4 separate regions of the Homo sapiens genome follow, and all the other regions are linked to region 4. Evidence: promoter capture Hi-C in human tissues and cell types (Jung and others, 2019). All regions are on one chromosome and are shown on one strand. The core of a region is centred on a gene start or on the middle of the fragment in contact, and the rest is flanking DNA. Distances in the headings are between cores, read along the strand shown.

Region 1 (2,808 bases), core at 309-2,808, 78 kb after region 4:
ACTCCTGGACTTGGGTTGGATTGGGCTTCTCCTGGCCACTTTTCAGAGTCGTGACTGGACTCAGCAGCCCACACGTGGGAGCACAGCCTGAGCCTCCACCTGGAAGCCACGCTCATCTGGCGGGCTCTGCGTGCAAATCTGACTCTACCCCTGCTCCACGGAGTTCCGGGGTCCTTCCTCCCAAGGCCCTTAAGGGCTACGATGGGCCATGTGGGAGCTGAGGGCACGTCTATCTTTTCCATAGATTTGGGGCTCCTTGTAAGACCGTGCTCAGACAAAGAAATCCATGGTCGAAATAGCATTAAAAGCATCGTCCTAAATGGACTTATCACTTAAGGAACTTCTTCAAGCCCGAAACCACATTTTCTGAAAAAAAGTCACCCCTTAGCCTCGACTTTCCCTGAGGTACAGTAAAGCTTTGATATCTTCCAAAATGTTCTCTGGGGTCCAACATGGAGCACAGTGCTGTTTTCAAACGAGCAGGTCAAATGCCCGTGGCCGCCTTTCCAAGCTCGGAGAGCTCTCTTTGTGTCTAGAATACACACACGTGTGCATGTACACATGTGTATTTATTCCTATATCTACATGCACACCCGGGTGTGTGATTTTTTTCAGTATTTCTTCATTTGCTTCACTTTATTATTTTTCAGGTTTACTCTTCTGTGGTCCTACAGGCTGGAGAGCTTGCCTTTGTTGCATTCCTTATTGAAGAGCTGAAAGGGAAGGGCTATTTTTGTGCTAACACAGCAAGTTATGGCCAGTGAACCTGGGGCGCCCAGGGGAGGAGATATGAAAAGGGGGCAGTTGGAGCTGGCACCAAGAGGTGGGATAAAAACACGTTTGCTTTTCACTTTTATAATTTCTCAGGCTCTTGGGGTGAGGGCTGTTTTTTTTTCTTTTTTTTGAGATGGAGTCTCGCTCTGTCGCCCAGGCTGGAGTGCAGTGGCGCGATCTCGGCTCACTGCAAGCTCCGCCCCCCGAGTTCACACCATTCTGCTGCCTCAGCCTCCCGAGTAGCTGGGACTACAGGCGCCCGCCACCACACCCAGCTAATTTTTTTGTATTTTTAGTAGAAACGGGGTTTCACTGTGTTTTTTGTTTTTTGTTTTTAAAAACAGAGTTTCATTTGTGTTAACCAGGCTGGAGTGCACTGGCACGATCTTGGCACACTGCAACCTCCGCCTCCCGGGTTCAAGCGATTCTCCTGCCTCAGCCTCCCAAGTAGGTGGGATTACAGGTGCGCACCACCACACCCAGCTAATTTCTGTATTTTTAGTACAGATGGGGTTTCGTCATGTTGGCCAGGCTGGTCTCAACTTCCTGACCTCAGGTGATCCACCTGCCTCAGCCTCCAAAAGTGCTGGGATTACAGGCGTGAGCCACTGCACCTGGCTGGGGTGAGGGGTTTTTAAAAGGACCACTTTCTGCTAAACGTGTTATGGACACATGAAGTCCCAGAGCTTTTTATCCATTTCTGGGAGCAGGGCTGGCAGCTGGGGAGAGAGCAGAGGGTGGAGGATGGTGGTGACCCCTGCGCTCCCCCTTCAAGCCCATCCCTGAGCAGGTCAGCGCGACTCCTGGAGTGAATCAAGGAAAAGTGAGCAAAACGTGCGGTCTGGGGAGTGAACCGGCATGAGAAGCGTCTGTTTGACGAATTACCCATTCATCAGAAAAGGGCAAGAAAAACACAAAGTCCCAAAATGATTCCTGAGGAAACGCCTGAGCTGACACAGAAGGCTCCAGAAACTCACCTTCGTCCCTTCTTTTCCAGCAAGGCCCGGAAGCCCCTGTTCACCGGGGGGTCCAGGGGGCCCAGGGTGGCCACGCTCACCCATTGGGCCCGTTTCTCCCGTGGGACCCTGTGGGGAAAATCAGTGTCAGCCACAGACGTTTCGAGTGACTTGCAAGGGAGTGAGAATCTCTTCCTAAATCTAAGGACAGCCCTGGTCATGGACGCAAAGGTCTGCTGCGGGCACACCAAACCTCCAAGTGCCTTTGCAAGCCTTCTCTTCCCGGCAAAAATCTAGAGGGTGGGTGTTGGTACGCTGCTCACTGCCTGGCATCTGCTGGGCCCCGCGTGGCCCTCTTCCCCCACCTGGCGCCTTCAGGAGGCACGGCCAAGCCTGCCTTCCTGGGATGTGCCCTGAGGGAGGCTGATTCAGCCACAGGACAGGCCAAGGATGGGAGAAAAGCCACACCAGGGGCAGAGCCCACATGCCCTTCAGTTCTGTGGCTGCAGCAGGTCTACGTCTTACTCACCGCTACATGAGGTGTGCGCTTTCTAGGACACAAGGTGACCCCTCCCCGTTCTGCAGCTCTAAGCCATCAATCCTGGCTCTAAGCTGCCCCTGACACTGATCTGCCACTGGTCTGCGGTTAGAATCGCAGGCCCGTGACACCCACAGGGACCAGTGGCAGGAGGACTCGGCTGCCTTGGACACCCACAGCAGGGATGAGCCCAGCTCCTGAGCTGGCCCAGGTCTGGCCCCAGCCACCCTGTGAGCCTTGGGCAGCCTTCCTTGCCCTGCGTGTTGGGTTTGTGTTGAGGGCAAACACATCTGTGCTTGCTCCTGCGTGGGGCGAGCCTCACGCTGACCAACATTCAGGACCTAAGATAACCTCTCAGCAGTACCTGCACCTCCGGAATCGTGGAGGGAACAGATGCCCGGGCTGGGACCCTCTTCCCTGTGGGCAAGTGACACCGAGTGACCCATGGAATCTGGGAAGGCTGGAGCTTACCTGAGGGCCGACCACGCCGGGGGGGCCTGGAGGGCCGGTCTTGCCTTGGAAACCCTGTGAAGAGAGAGT
Region 2 (2,700 bases), core at 26-2,525, 100 kb before region 4:
TCTTTCAGGTGTAGTCAGGTTGAGATGAGGTTGTACTGAGGGGGGGTGGCCTTAGGAGGGGAAGGGGGTTCCGGAGACACACGCGGAAGATGGCAGCAGAGACTGGGGTGACGCCCCACTGACCTGGATGTTGAGCTCCCGGCCTCTGGGCAGCAAGGGAAGGAATTCCTGGGGGTTGAAGGCCCCTCATTCATGGTCTTTTGCTACAACAGCCCTGGGAAAGGAACAAGGCAGGATTCGGCTGTTTGTGAGGACGCACAGTCCAAGGCACCAGCACGAGGGTGCTGGCTGCGGACGGCTATCCTGAGCCTCTCCTGGCCTAGCCAGCCTGACTCTCCAGCCACAGCCCACCCAGCCCTGATGTGCAGGATTCCTTCGTTCTGCTGTAAAGATGGGGGCACCCTTCCACTTCAGTGGAATCTTTGAGCAGCTGCCTGTCATTTAAATAATTTCTCTTAATTTTTTAAAAAAGATAAATTTAAACATTTAGATAATTTAAAAGAAAACGCAGCTCCTACTGCCCTCCTTGTATAACCACCATCCTCTCACTGTCCGTCCTCCCCGTGGAATGATCATTATCTCGCCATCCTTCCTCCCTGTATAACCATCATCGTCCTCCCGCCGTCCCTCCTCCCAGTGTAGCCATCATAACCCTCTCGCTGTCCCTCCTCTCTGTATAGCCATCATCCTCTTGCCATCCCTCCTCCCTGTATAACCATCATCCTCTCGCCGTCCCTCCTCCCTGTGTAACCATCATCTTCCTCTCGCCATCCTTCCTGCCTGTATAGCCATCATCCTGTCGCCATCCCTTCTCCCTGTATAACCATCCCTCCTCCCTGTGTAACCATCATCATCCTCTTGCCGTCCCTCCTCCCTGTGTAACCATCATCATCCTTTTGCCGTCCCTCCTCCCTGTGTAACCATCATCTTCCTCTCACCATCCCTCCTCCCTGTGTAACCATCATCATCCTCTTGCCGTCCCTCCTCCCTGTGTAACCATCATCATCCTCTTGCCGTCCCTCCTCCCTGTGTAACCATCATCTTCCTCTCACCATCCCTCCTCCCTGTATAACCATCATCTTCCTCTCACCATCCCTCCTACCTGTATAGCCATCATCATCTCGCCATCCCGCTTGTGTAACCATCATTATCCTCTAGCCATCCCTCCTCCCTGTATAAGCATCATCTTCCTCTTACGATCCCTCCTCTCTGTATAACCGTCGTCCTCTCGCTGTCGCTCCTCCCTGTGTAGCCATCATCCTCTCACCATCCCTCCTCCCTGTATAACCATCATCTTCCTCTCGCCATCCCTCCTCCCTGTGTAACCATCATCCTCTTGCCGTCCCTTCTCCCTGTATAACCATCATCCTGTCGCCATCCCACCTCCCTGTATAACCATTATTCTCTCACTGGCCCTCCTCCCTGTATAATCATCATTCTCCCTGTATAACCATCCTCCCACGGAGGGACCAGCATGGTTTGTGGTGAGCCTTTGTGGGCAGGCAACTGACTGGCACAGATTCCCTCCGTGACCCACTGCGAGCCTGGGCTGAGCCCCGTCTCAACTAGGCCTTGACCTTGGCCTTCGTGTCCATGGCTGGCTGAGTCTTGTTATACTGAGAACCCTCCCATCCTTTGCATTGGATCAGATTCCTCGCCCCTGACCATCAATGTCTAAATCCTCGGCCTGCCTTTAACAGGAACTCCTGCCCTTGGTGTCTAACCAGGTGAGTGGTTTCCAGCCCGGACCCTCACTCTGCTCGTGGGCTGGGCATCCACAGCTGTCTTCACTGCGTCTGAACTGAGCTTGGTTCTAAAGTCCTTCACTTACTCCAGTGGCTTGAATACAATCTGTCTTGCTGTTTTTCCCAAGTGAGCAATGCAGACAGGTTCTCCTACACATGGTTACTTGCTTTGGATAGTCGCTGTGAAGGAGGACTCGCTGGCTGAGAGGATGAGCGTTTTTAAGGGCTGGGTACACCTTGCTGAGTTGCTGTGCACACAGGAGAGTGTCAGCTGGCACTCCTGCTGGCAGCAAGTGCCAGGAGAGGCCCTGGCCTGGGAAGGCCCCTTTCTCCCAGGGCTGGCTCCTGGGATCTCCTAAGTCGCTGAGATTCTAGGCTCAACCTCAGCTCCTCTGCGCCGGCACCCCCACCTGCCCCCCGGCCACCCAGCTCCCACCATGTCACCTCCAGCAGAGGCTGAGAAGGTGCCTCCCCCACCTCGTTAATTATGGAGTCGGCAAATGCCCTGGATCACACAGCTGGGTTGTTTTTATTCTTCACTGGAAGGTGGAAGGTTTTGTCTGGCTCTCTCCCCAGGTGCAAGGCCTTGCGCTGGGCTGACTTCACCCCTCAGATACAGGGTCATTTCCAGATGCCGATACCTGCAGCTTTCCGGACACCGCCCCGCATCTCCAGGCAGACTGGCCTGGGCATGGAGGTTACAGCCTGGTGCCTCTAACAGGGGTTTTACCCTTGGGTCTGTGAATTTAGATGGAAAACACGTTGCAGTTTTTAAAAATAAATTTCTGATCATCCGTCATTTCTCTCGATAATGCTTATAGACGACCACAGTACATGCGACTTTGTGCACAGGGAAAACCACAGATCTTTGATCTCTCGAGGTAGCCATTGCTGCTAACTTCAAATATCCTTTTTATTCACCACGGCTTGGGAATTGCGGAGTTATTAAGCCCAC
Region 3 (2,700 bases), core at 48-2,547, 81 kb before region 4:
TCTCTACTAAAAATGCAAAAACTAGCCGGGTGTGGTGGCGTATGCCTATAATCCCAGCTACTCGGGAGGCTGAGACACAAGAATGGCTTGAACCCAGGAGGTGGAGTTTGCCGGGAGGTGGAGGTTGCTGGGGGGCGGAGGTTGCTGAGAGGTGGAGGTTGTGGTGAGCCAAGATTACACCACTGCACTCCAGCCTGGGCGACAGGCCCTGTCTCAAAGAAAACAAAAAAGAACAATGTTAAGGGGCATGTGGAGCCAGGCCAAATGCAGTCTTCTGATTTCAAGCATGCTGCCCTCTAGGACAGGCGGGCCCTAGTGTTAGGGTGGGGAACCGTGAGAGCTATGCAAAACAGGACATGCCTTACACTAGCATATGTTGATGTGGGAGATATTTTCTTCTTGGTATTTCAAATCAGCACATGCTAATAGTCACCTTTATGTTCTGAGCAAGTTACCAAAGGGTTTCTTTAAGGGCATATATTTGCTTTTGTGGTCTTTAAAAAGCCCAATTAAAGTTTATGGCTTTGGCTGGGAAAGCCAACCTCCCATTTATTATGAAGTCTGCAGGCTGGAGGCATCTGGGGCAGGAGGACTTCCTACCTTGCTGCTGCTGGCCTGAGAGTCCGCCTGATCCTCAGCCTCCTGGGAAGGGCTTGGCATCAGGAACTAACAGCACAGACAAGAAGGCATGAAACCTGTTACATTGTCCTTGCTGTCATACAAGGAACTGCAGTGAGCCAGATGTGCAATTGCTCAGACTGTAGCTGGGTGGCTGCTCCTGAGAGGCGGAGGTGCAGGGCACCTGCACTGGTGACAACACGAACGGGGCACACGCACCAAGGTCCCCACAGTGGCTCCGGGCTGTGATCGTGGTGGCGACTTCCAGCCATTCTGTCACCTCCCCTCGGAGGGTGTGTCTGTAACCCCTTGGAGGTCACAGACGTCCATTTCCTATGAAGTGCCCAGCCCATGGCTATGGGACCCCCATACAGCGGATAAGAGCTAGTGGGGTCCCTGTGGTGTGCTGAGCCAGATGACCCCAAGGCCTGCCTGCAGTGTTTGCAGTGAAGCTGGGAAGGAAAGCCTCGCACCTGAGTTGACGTTCAGTGCAAGACCCGGGTGCAAGCCTGTGGCCATGGACGGCTGCCAAGGTGGAGAGAAGGTGGGAGACAGGAGCCGAACAGCCCACGGGAGGGAGGCCTGGGGGCACTGTGGGTGAGGCAGGAGCCGAGGGGCCAGACTGGGGCAGATAATCCGGAGCAGTGGCAGAAAGAAATGCTGTGCCCTCAGACACCGGGGCCTGCTGACCCACTGGATAGAAGCACATCATGAGCTTGGCAGGAAGCCCCAGGAGAAGTCCTCGTGAGGACACTGATTTGAAATCTTTGTCAGCAGGTGCTGGTGGCAATTAGCGTTTTATTTTGGGTTGTAAATAGACAGCCATAGTCCAGGGTCCTGGCCCCAGCTCAGCCACCGGCCTCTGCACGCCCCTGGTTGCAGCTGCTCTTGGCCTCACTGTCCTCGAGAAACCAGGAGGTTGGGAGGGTTGGCTTCTAAGGCAGGCAAGCTGGAAGGTTCTCTGTGATTTTATGGTATGTGGTGACATTTGGCCAAGAAGGGGCAACTTGGCAGGGGGGTCCCAGATGCCTGGCTGAGAACCGACCTTCCGCAGGGGTTCGCTCGCCTTCCTGGAATCCGGCGGGGACTGGCTGCAGGAAGCCGGCTCCCTCCCCTCTCCCATCACACACACCAGGGAAGTGCTTCAACTCCTGGGTGGCTTGTTCCTGGCGTTGCCCGTGGGCTCGCTAGGAGAGCCATCACGTGAGCAACTGTCTGTGTCCCTTGTGGATGAGGGGTGCAAGCTGTGAGCTAGAGCCAGATGGGAGCAAAGGTCTGCAGTGCCCCCGTGGTGGGGGCCATGCCCAGGAACAGAGAGGCTAGGGCCTCCTTCCCGGCCCAGCCTCAGTCCTCTCCTCTTAGCGGTTTTGACAGAGTCCCAAGTGCACCTGCAAAGCAGACAGGCTGCCACAGTGCTGGGCGGAGAAAGGTCACCCTGCCCTTGCCTGTTCAGCATGGCTCTGCAGAAAGGGCCTAATGACTAATTAAAACCCTGCTGCCCGGGTTGGAATACTAATCTTTACAGCTTCATGGGCCTTCGTGATGCATCTCCCTGCAAACTCTGAAGAGCGAGGAGATGAGGCTGGAGGGGACGGTGTTGGTTTCCATCGGCTTCTTGTTTGTAGCCGGGGAGCGGCCCCTGTCTTCCACTTCTCAAAGTCGCTGTGAAGAAGTGAGAGTTGCTCCTTCCTGCTCTCTTTTTTCAGGGCCACAGGCAGAATGGAGCCTCCTGGAGGGTCAGGGCCTCTTTCTTCCAATTCGCTTCTCGCTTCTGCCCAAGGAAACCTCTTCAGCTGGAAGATCCCAGCTGGGACCTGGCTTGGAGGGAGATGCATTCCCTCTGAAAGGTCTGGCAGGTGGTGGGCTGTGCCCAGCTGTGCCGACCAGTGGCCCTGGGGTGGGAATGGCTTTGCCATCTGCCTTAAATTCGCCCACCTCTGGCCACCCAGCTGGCACTCAGGTCCCGCCCAAGCTAGCGTTGCGGGATGTACGTCCCTGGGGATCTAGAGAAGTGACTTTCACAGGCTACCTGTGTGTAGCGGAGTGGTGAACAGTGAAGTCTGAGACCCTCAAGGGTTGGCC
Region 4 (2,716 bases), core at 53-2,552:
GTTCTCATCTATCATATCATTGTAATCAATATCGGGTGAGAAGGACACAGGGAGAGAGGCTACCATTGCAACTCCCACGCCTGATCTTGGAGCAGATCTGAGAGTGGATGGGCTCCTGTGGGTCCACCTTGTTCCTCCACAGAGGGAGGCGTCCTTCAAGGACACTGAACAAGTTGGTGCGAAACTAGAGCTGGAATGCAGCTTGTTGTTTTTAATTAGATAACTCAAATTCAAGTGAGTGTGTTACAAAAATAACACGTGCTATTATTTGATCATTTAGAAACTCTAGAAGTATTTAAGGAAGAAAATAATGCCACCCTAACCCCACCACTCCACAACGAGCCACTAGGAGTTTCCAAGCGAATCCCCGCTGTTCCTGGCCTGTGTCACACTTCACGCCACGGATTGCTCCTTGAATGCGATGCTAGTCACAGCACACCGCAGAGCTCTGTGTCTCACATGCATTCCAGAAATCCTGACACGAATCTCTGCAAGCATCAGGAGCATCACAAATTCCTGACCCTGCATCCCAGCCCCGGGTAGACGGAGTCAGGACCTGACTCCAGAACCTGCATTTTCAACCTGCCCTCGCATGCGCCGGAGCCCATGGTTTGGCACCCGAGTGTCCCCTCGGGAGCCCCGAAGGAGGTCCAGAACTCACGGGGACAATGCCACCCTTATTGTGCCGCATCAGGGACACCATGGGAACTGCCATCTCCAGAGCCCAGCAGGTCCTGGATGGAAAGGTCCTGCAGTGCTCATCCCCGCCTGACACCCTGTCTTTCCGGGTGCTTATCCCCACCTCACACCCTGTCTCTCTGTGATGGCGACCATGGCAGAATATCTGACTGGTGTCTACCCAGCTGGCACCACAAGCCTCACCTCCCCACACAACACCATGACTACGCTTTTTACGCTTAGAGGGGGACATGTGGCCCAGGGAGACTGGAAACCTGCCTCGGTTTCCATTATGGGAGGGCAAGCAGAGGAAGCTCCGTCTCTGAGATGCCACATCCATTCGGGGCCTCTGCGTTTGTTCACATAAGATGAGGCATGCAGAGCTGCTGTCTCGTTAGACGATGCTCCACACGGCCTGGTGCAAGGCCTGGAAGCCAGGAAGCCACCAATCACGAAGCTGCCAGCTTTCAGGGACGAGAAGTTTCCAGGAGGAGGCCCTGGAGTGCCCTTACCTGGACAGGTGTCTGCCGCCTGGAGAGCCCAGGCCATGCCCAGGAAAGAGAGCAGCAGGGTGGCAGCGCCCAGGACCCCCACAGCTCTGTCCAGCTCCATCTCTTCTGGTCTTTGCTTCAAAAGGTGCCTGCCCTCTTATAGGGCTAGAGAAGCCAGCCTCCCTCAGACTCCAATTTCTCATCTTCCGAGTGACAGCCGCTTCCTCTCCGCGGGCTTGGTGACGCCAGCAGGAGGTGCGAGATCATCTCCAGGGCTGCTCCCTACCCCCCGCCCCTTGGGGATCCCATGGCGACTGTCATCCCTGCAGGGGGACGGTCTCCTTCCAGGGAACAGGCTGACTTGCTTGTGGCCTTGGGCAAAGAGCCCAGGCCCATCCTCCCACCTTTGTTCAGCGGTGAGCAGATGTCACCATGAGCTGAGAACGGGGAACAAGGAAGGGTTTGCTAAAGATGTTCTGCTTCAAAGAGGTCTCTCTCCCTTATCCGAATACCTAGAGTCCTCATGGCCAGGGCTGGTCATGGGCCACTGGTGTGGGCCTTACACAGTAACCCTCACCACATCATGAGCAGACTTGGGACTCTCCTCAGGAGGCTTGGAAACTGCCACTATGAGGTCCAGGCAGGCTGCCAGGGTGAAAAGGAGAGGAAAATGCGTGTGTGTCCACTGTTTCCTGGGGCAGTATGTAGAGCACAGGGGCACATGAACAGGAGGGAAAGGAGAGAAGAGTGGGGAGCCTGGGGGACTATGACCCAGGTACACATCTGAAGGGGAGACCTTGAGTGTGAATGCAGGGGCTTAGCCTGTAGGGAGGATGAGAGTAGGTGAATTTCACTCCTAGGGCCCAGGGAACCCCCTGAGCCCTGAGGCCAGACATCCCACCTGTAGGATGGCTGTGGACTTACTTCAGTGGTTGTGTTCGCCTTTTGGAGAAGAGCTGGCCTGAAGGTGCACTCTCGCCTTGGACTGAGCCAGGTTAGAGACAGAGACAGTAGCAGGTGGGGCCCCAGAGGCCGTATACCTAAAGCCCCCAGAGACGGAACCAGCACTGCACCTCCCACTACCACCACCGCACCCTGCCACCTGCTGCCATCGGGATGCCGAGGTGCCTTCTTCCTTGGCAAGATCAGTAGAAGGATTTTAAACTGTGACCCCAGCCCAGCAAAGCCACGCGAGAAACAAAATCCCATCGGATTTTCCTTCAATGCCCATGGAGATGTGTGGTCCTGAGACTATGACTAGTTAAGACCCCCCTCGGGTTCCGTGGTGTTTAGGGCAGACCTCTCAAGACTTAATTAAGGCTATGCCAGATGCAGATGAGGTCCAGGGATGAACCTGGGGAAGACACAGGCTCCATGGAGATGCAGATATGGAACCTAGAAAGATGGCTTGGGGGCATCTTCCTCAAAGTCCTGAAGTCACCTGCAGAGGAGCCAGGTCCCCAGAGCTGCCCAGTGAAACCCCAGCAGCCAAAATTCCGAGTCCTTAGGCAGGTTCCTTTACTGCATGCTATTTGTCCTTCCTAATA

What was found. The method cuts DNA at HindIII sites, captures the fragments that hold promoters and counts their contacts. A contact is called where the count stands out against the background at its distance.
Region 1: a fragment that was not itself captured here is called in contact with the fragment with the promoter of FCN2 in region 4 in 3 of the 25 tissues and cell types used here (dorsolateral prefrontal cortex, spleen and thymus).
Region 2: a fragment that was not itself captured here is called in contact with the fragment with the promoter of FCN2 in region 4 in 2 of the 25 tissues and cell types used here (mesendoderm cells and thymus).
Region 3: a contact is called between a fragment that was not itself captured here and the fragment with the promoter of FCN2 in region 4, in 3 of the 25 tissues and cell types used here (lymphoblastoid cells, spleen and thymus).

What each region holds. Positions count from the first base shown.
Region 1 is chr9:134,801,939-134,804,746 of GRCh38, reverse strand. It overlaps COL5A1 (collagen type V alpha 1 chain), which reads right to left. Exons shown (of 66, transcript NM_000093.5): 38 at 2,740-2,793; 39 at 1,752-1,859. Among named protein-coding and RNA genes, the nearest start is that of MIR3689C, 46 kb to the left of the region's middle. RefSeq lists an enhancer at 1-74. The HindIII fragment of the contact is 5,990 bases long and covers 1-2,808 here.
Region 2 is chr9:134,980,099-134,982,798 of GRCh38, reverse strand. No RefSeq gene overlaps it. Among named protein-coding and RNA genes, the nearest start is that of FCN1, 64 kb to the right of the region's middle. RefSeq lists an enhancer at 1-311. The HindIII fragment of the contact is 4,934 bases long and covers 1-2,700 here.
Region 3 is chr9:134,960,097-134,962,796 of GRCh38, reverse strand. No RefSeq gene overlaps it. Among named protein-coding and RNA genes, the nearest start is that of FCN1, 44 kb to the right of the region's middle. The HindIII fragment of the contact is 9,903 bases long and covers 1-2,700 here.
Region 4 is chr9:134,879,396-134,882,111 of GRCh38, reverse strand. FCN2 (ficolin 2) reads right to left here and starts at 1,302. Exons shown (of 8, transcript NM_004108.3): 1 at 1,191-1,302. The coding sequence starts at 1,290. The HindIII fragment of the contact is 19,799 bases long and covers 1-2,716 here.